Regions from separate parts of the Homo sapiens genome. Here region 1 is linked to region 2. The links are contacts of gene promoters, found by promoter capture Hi-C in blood cells and fetal thymus (Javierre and others, 2016). All regions are on one chromosome and are shown on one strand. Each heading gives the region's core, a stretch centred on a gene start or on the middle of the fragment in contact. The rest is flanking DNA. Distances are from core to core; before and after follow the strand shown. Region 1 overlaps TEC (tec protein tyrosine kinase). Region 2 holds the start of SLC10A4 (solute carrier family 10 member 4).

The links. The method cuts DNA at HindIII sites, captures the fragments that hold promoters and counts their contacts. A CHiCAGO score of 5 or more calls a contact.
Region 1: a fragment that was not itself captured here is called in contact with the fragment with the promoter of SLC10A4 in region 2 in 1 of 17 cell types (erythroblasts); the score reaches 5.6 in erythroblasts.

Annotation. Positions count from the first base shown.
Region 1 is chr4:48,207,801-48,211,114 of GRCh38, reverse strand. All of the region lies in intron 2 of TEC (tec protein tyrosine kinase), which reads left to right. Among named protein-coding and RNA genes, the nearest start is that of TEC, 60 kb to the left of the region's middle. RefSeq lists an enhancer at 355-494. The HindIII fragment of the contact is 367 bases long and covers 1,110-1,476 here.
Region 2 is chr4:48,482,021-48,485,133 of GRCh38, reverse strand. SLC10A4 (solute carrier family 10 member 4) reads right to left here and starts at 1,791. Exons shown (of 3, transcript NM_152679.4): 1 at 983-1,791; 2 at 1-202. The coding sequence starts at 1,572. RefSeq lists silencers at 1,612-1,741, 1,822-1,871. The HindIII fragment of the contact is 5,112 bases long and covers 1-2,518 here.

The DNA of each region.
Region 1 (3,314 bases), core at 44-2,543, 270 kb after region 2:
ACTTATTAATTGCATGACCTAGGACAAATTACTTAATCTCTCTGTGTCTCACCTTTAAACTGGGGAGAATAATAATACTTCCCTCATAGGAGTTTTTGAGGGGTAAATGGATCAGTATAGATAAAGTGGCTAGGATAGGTCCTGGTAGGTAAGTGCATGTAAGCAGCTGTTATTATTATATACATAAGGTAGGTTGCATTGTTGCCCATTGTGTCTTTACATGTTTCAGTCTTTGCTCTTGCCTCTGTTTTTTCCCAGATATCAATGCATTTGCAATGAGTGTAATTGTGTCATTGTGTTATTAGGTCACTAATCACAGGTGATTCACTCTTTAAATTGATCTGTGGTGCTGGTAGTCTGGTTATGTTTTGGAGTTCTGGTAACTGGTGGAAATGCATACCTCGGGTAGGTTCATGTGTTTGACATCTCTGAACCATGTTCATGGAACTCTGTTGGGGGTCGTCTGCTGTGGATGTTTTTCTCTGGATGTTTGCCAGTGGTACACATATCGATAGGGTGCCAGTTGTGGTAACTGTGGTGTTGCTTTCTCAGTTTTAGTTTTTCTTTCCTCCCTCTTCCTCCTCCTCCTCCTCATCATCCTCCTCCTCCTCCTCCTCCATTTTTTTTATAAAGAGGCAGTCTCATTCTGTCACTCAGACTGGAGTGCAGTGGTGTGGTCATAGCTCACTGCAGCCTCAAACTCCTGGGCTCAAGGGATCCTCCCACCTTGGCCTCCTAAGGACCAGGATGACAGGCACGTGCCACTATTCCTGCTAATTTTTTGTTTTTAGTTTTGTAGAGATGGAGTCTTGCTATGTTGCCTAGGCTGGTCTTAAACTTCTGGCCTCAAGGGATCCTCCTGCCTCAGCCTCCCAAAGTGCCAAGATTACAGGCATAAGCTACCGAGTCTGACCAACTTTACATTTTTATGACAACAGAGGTGGGTCTGCTATGGAGTTAAAGAAAAGTAAGCTTTAGGCTCTTTCAATTCCATAGCCCTTCCTAAGGCCTCTGGAAGGGCCCCAGAGCTTTTGCATTTATGATTTTGCATTTTAGTTTTATTTTTAATTTTTAATTGACAAAGATTTCTCCTCCAAAGTGTTTAAGCTTCAGATCCCTCAAAATCTGGATCTGCCTCTGTAGAGCACATAACATTTCATTTGTTCTAATATCTGACAATTTCTGCAAACTCTGACAGTGAAATACTCTCAAACATTTCCACTGTAAAACAGCTAATAAACAAGCATGTTTACAATTGGTTTATGTTCTCTAAGTTCTTCCTTTGAAAAACAAAGTGGTGTGTCTCTACTTTAATCTGTTAATTTTATTTCCCTGAATAGAGTTAAACAGTTGTTGTTTTTGAAGTCCTATACTTTTCTTGTTAAATGTATTCCTATTTTATAGTTTTAGCTACTCTTGTGAATAGGTTTTTTTCCCCATGATATGTTGTAATTATTGTTAATATATCATCAAGCTTGATTTTTTATAAATCTATTTTTTTTGAGACAAAGTCTCACTCTGTTACCCAGGCTGGAGTGTATTGGTGTGTTCACAACTCACTGCAGCCTCAAAATCCTGGGCTCAGGCCATCCTCCCACCTCAGCCTCCCGAATAGCTGGGATACAGGCGTTTGCTACCATGCCCAACTAATTATTTGTTATTTTTAATTTTTTTTTGTAGAGATGAGCTCTCTCTATGTTGCCAGGCTGGTCTCAAACTCCTGGGCTCAAGTAGTCCTCCCACCTCAGCCTCCCAAAGTGAGGTACTGTGCCTGCCTACAAATTTATTTTGTAACCAACCATTATACTCTGCTACGTCTGACTGTTACATAGAGACATAGTTTTCTATCATCAACTTCATTATGGAAGGGTTATTTTCTACTGAATTTAATCCAAATTACGAGAAGAAAAAAATTAAAAAAAATTAAAAGGTATTTTAAGTGCTAAACAAGAACATTCAAAAGCATGGGATTAAAACTTTCTGTGCTGAGAAAGTTATAAGCTGTGTGTTCTGGAGGGAGGCATTGATGGGGAGTGGTGGAGGAATATATCTACCCAGTAACCTTAAATTTTCTGAATTGACCGAAATACAAATTTAGAAATAGAGAAATCTAGATTTATAATTCATAGTGACTACCACGGTGGGATAATTGAATTCAAACCCAGCCTATCTAACTTGGAAGGCACCCACAGACATCTCTACTTGAATTTCTTAGCCACCACCCCCAATTCTTTTTTACTTGAATCTGTTCATTTGACAAAAATATTTTAAGCACCTACTTTGTGCCAAGTACTGTTGTAGGCTCTGTGGACACAATAGTATAGAAGGTAAATGCCCTGCTGTCCTGGAATTTACCTTCTAAAGGGGAGATGCAGACAACGTACAGATACCAGTAAATATCCCCCTGCCATGAGAAAAGTAAAGCCGCATGAGAGAGATGGGGCCTTGCCTGCTGTTTCTGTAGGTAGGGAATAGAGAACTTAGGAAGAGCAGGGCAGGCCACGGAGAAGCCAAGAGTACAAAGGACCCCAGGGAGGTGGGAAATGCTTTATTGCTCAAAGAACAGCAGAGAGGGAAAGGAACTGAGGTGGAATGGGGTGGGCATGGGAGGGGAGGAGGCCAGAGAGCTGGGCAAATTCATTTTTTTGTTTGTTTTGTTTTTGTTTTTTAAGTAACAGGCAGATTTTGGAGGGTTTTGAGATGGGAGAGACAAGATGTTGCTAATTCATGTATGTTGCCACGCCAGGGCACAGTGAAACATGAACTGGCAGTTAGAAGCTTGGAGTTAGTTCTGGCTCTGCTAGCCAGTGTGATCTTGGAGAGGTCAGTCCCTCAGTTTCCACCCTAAATTGAGGAAATTAGACTGTGATCACCAGAATCCCTTTCATGGCCAAATATTATGATTCTCAGATGGAGAAATTGTTATTAAGCATTCATATGTGCTGGCCACAGTTGTTGGCTAAGTGGGATAGAGGAGACCTGCCACTCCCACCCTCTGCTCAGACTTTGGCTCTTTGCCTCACCCCTGCCTCTGGGAAGCCAAGTTCTGAGCCTGCCTGGACCACAGATGGGTGTATCACTCTGTTCTCACTGGGGTCCTCATCGGTAGGTGTGGGCATGTTGACTTACTCTGTTTGCCTTGGTCTTCTTTCTTCCAAATGGTGTTGTTCTCTTTCATTCAATTTCCTCTTCTTTTCTTCTATTAGGATTTATACATTTTAAAAAATCCTTTTCCTATCATTTTAGTGGAGTGCAATAAGGGAAAGGAGTTAAGAGCTTGTGATCAATCCATTATGCTTAAATTCTGGATTTTT
Region 2 (3,113 bases), core at 542-3,041:
GTAGTCAGCCACCCGGCTGTATTTGTAGCGAATGAAGACGCCCAACCCGATAGGTATGAGAGTGCTGCAGAGAGTCAGGGTCACGGTCCCTAGGGGTAGTAACTGCACGATAGGGGTGTTGATCCAAGCCCAGCTGTAGATCCACAGGCACAGGGGCATCAAGACGAGGGCCAGAAGCGTGGAGGAGATGGTCATGATGATGCTGCAGAAAAGGGAATGTGCAGAAATCAGAACGAGCTTTGAGTCAAACAGCCAGCTAACCTTTTTCTTGTATGTTGAGTAGAGGTGGAACGGGGAGACTGCAAGTCCCGGGGTTGAAGTCTGGGCAGAACCTACATCCGAGGAGAGTGCCAAGAGAGCAGCACGTCTAACACCGATGGAATTATGAACCCAAGGCAGGGAGGAAAAACAAGCCCCCTGTCTCGGTACTGCTGCCCTCGACATTATAAAGTCTATTGAGCCTGGATGATTCTGAGGGGAAGGAACGTTCTTCCTTGCAAGCCCCCTGCAAGGTAAGCCATGGTAAAGCTGCTGACTGCTACTTGTTGGTCGGACTCAACAATCCTGCACTCTATGTGAGATTACTTTCTCTGACGGGCCAGTAGCCCTATTTTACTTTTACGTTGCCGGCGAGTTCTAGTTCAGACTCCCCCTTCTCTTTGTCTTCCACTGGACAACGACCTGCGCTGCCACCCCGACGCTCGGGGAGGACGGCGAGGGACCCTGCTGAAGGGCCGCGCTGCGCATGGAATCCCAGCCTTGGAGCAGCTCCCTCGCCGTCTAGCTTGCTCCCCTAGCAGCACAACCTGCAGGTCGGCCTTGACTTCTAAAGCCGGGGCGTCATCAACTTCCTCTCCTTTTCTCCTCCTTCCTCCACGCCTAATTCCAACCCCTCCACTGCCTCTGTCCTTCGTCGTGAGCCCACGGCCGTAAACGCGCGTCTGGGATGAGACAGATGCCCAAGGAATAGACAGATCCGTACCTGAGGTTCATGTCGCCGTCAACCAGCAGGGACATAAGATTGGAGAGATTGCCGCCGGGACAGCAGCCACACAGGAGCACCGCCACGGCGGCCACCTCGTCCAGCTTGAAGGCGAGGGCCAGCAGGAAGGCCAGCAGCGGCAGGAGGCCGAACTGGCAGAGCGCTGCCAGCAGCGCGCCCACGGGCCGACGGACGTGCGCCCCGAAGTGGTTCACGTCCACCGTGCAGCCCAGGCCCAGCATGGTGATGCACAGGGCGGCGCCCACGAACACGTTCAGCCCGTGGTTCAGCGGCGTGTCCCAGAACGGGAGCGCGTGGGGCGCCCAGGGCCGAGGGAACGGGGAAGGGCCGTGGCTCGCCGCGCCGCCCGCGAGGCCGCTGGTCGTGGGCTCCGGGGTCGGAGTGGGGCCGGGGCTGAAGCCGAAGCTCGGACCCGGCCCGAGGCTGAGCCCAGGGCCGGGGCCGGCGCTGGAGGCAGGGGCGAGGGCGAGGTCCGTGCCGGGGCCCAGGCTGCTGGCATTGGGCGCCAGGGTGTAGTTGTCCCGCAGCAGAGGGGCGAAGAGCAGGGTCACGTTGTCGTTGCCGTCCATGGCGCGGCCGGAGCTGCGGATTCCGGTCCCCTCCCGCCGCGTGCCTCTCGCCGTCCCGCGGTCGCCGCAGTCGCCGCCCGTCGTTCTGCCCGTCGGTCTCCGAGCCCCGGCTGCGCGCCGCTGACGTGCTCGGCGGCGTCGGGGGCGGCGGGCCGGTCTCCGCTCCCAGGTCTGCAGCCGCCCGCAGCCTGGCACTCCGCGCAGCGCGGCCCCCCGGGTGAACCCAATCGCTGCGCCGGCTCCGCGCCGCGGCCCCGCGCCCCGCAGGCCCCGCCCCGCCCTGCCGCCCGGTCCCCTCCTGTGAATCGCCAGTAAGTGGTTCTGTTATCGAGTGTAGCCAGGGGCGGAACAAAGACCTGACAAAGGACCAGAGCAGGAAAAAACCGTTCCTGGCTGCCGATCAAGTTCTCTGATGGGCTCTGCCTCTTTATAATGAAATCTGGAGACCCAGACACACAAAGTGGAGGGGGCGGGTGGATAACCTCATCGATGCACGCTCATGGCAGAAACTGTTCCTATAGCCTGCAGCCCTAAGAGGGGTGCTTGACTTAATATGAGCGATTCTCTAGTAAGCAGGACACGATATCTGGCTTGAATTTGCAAACAATTTTTTGCATGATTTTCAGTCTTAAAGTAGAATGTAATAATAATATAGCGGGTTTTGTGCAAGTGCGTGTGCATTATTTCATTCGATTCTTACAGCAAAGCCGTGAGATAGATACCATTTTTACAAGCTCGATTTTTACAAACGAGGAAACTGAGGAACGAGGAATTCTCAGTCTTATCAACCGAACCCACAAGTACCTGGCTGAATCTGCACGGCGATGTGTCCCTAAAGAGGGCAGAGAAGAGCTTGGCTAATAACAATTTCCATGAAAAATGTGTGTTTAAGAAGTTATTGGCAGGTGGAGAGAGGATATTTCAGTGGCCACAGATTTACGAAGCTTTATGAGTAAGGCCCTGGCATTAGGATTAAAGGACTGAAAAGAAATAAAGTGCTGAGATTCCCTGCTTGAGACAGGTTTATCCCAAAACAATTCAAAAGCAGAGCTCTTAGGAATGGAGATGCAACAACTTTTAAGTCAGTCACTAGATGGCATGTAGAAAGGAAAATAATTTCGCTGCTTACCAACCAGGTGGGGCCTGTTAAGGAGGCATCTAGCTCCCTGGGGGTGACCATAAAGTGATAGTCAGTTGAGTTGTAAAAACCAACAGGAATTTCTAGAATGAAATCAAGGCTCAGTCTTAGCCCAGGGTTGCTTTCACAAGGAGCCAAGATATAGTGAATTCTTCTATCTGGGAACTTTTCCCTAACTCCTGTCCTGGCACAGAGTGACTTCTATTACCCAAGGGTGGGCTGAGCCTTTCCTCCTCCCCAAATCTCATGAAGATGATGGAGACTATGAAAAGTAAGACTTTGCAAATGCAAAGCATATTGCACTCTTCATCACAAATAATTTATTTTTTCTCTTTTGGACTGTAAATTCCACGAGGGCAGAGCTTTTGCAAGAATCTAGGAGGATAATGTACCCTTACACTTT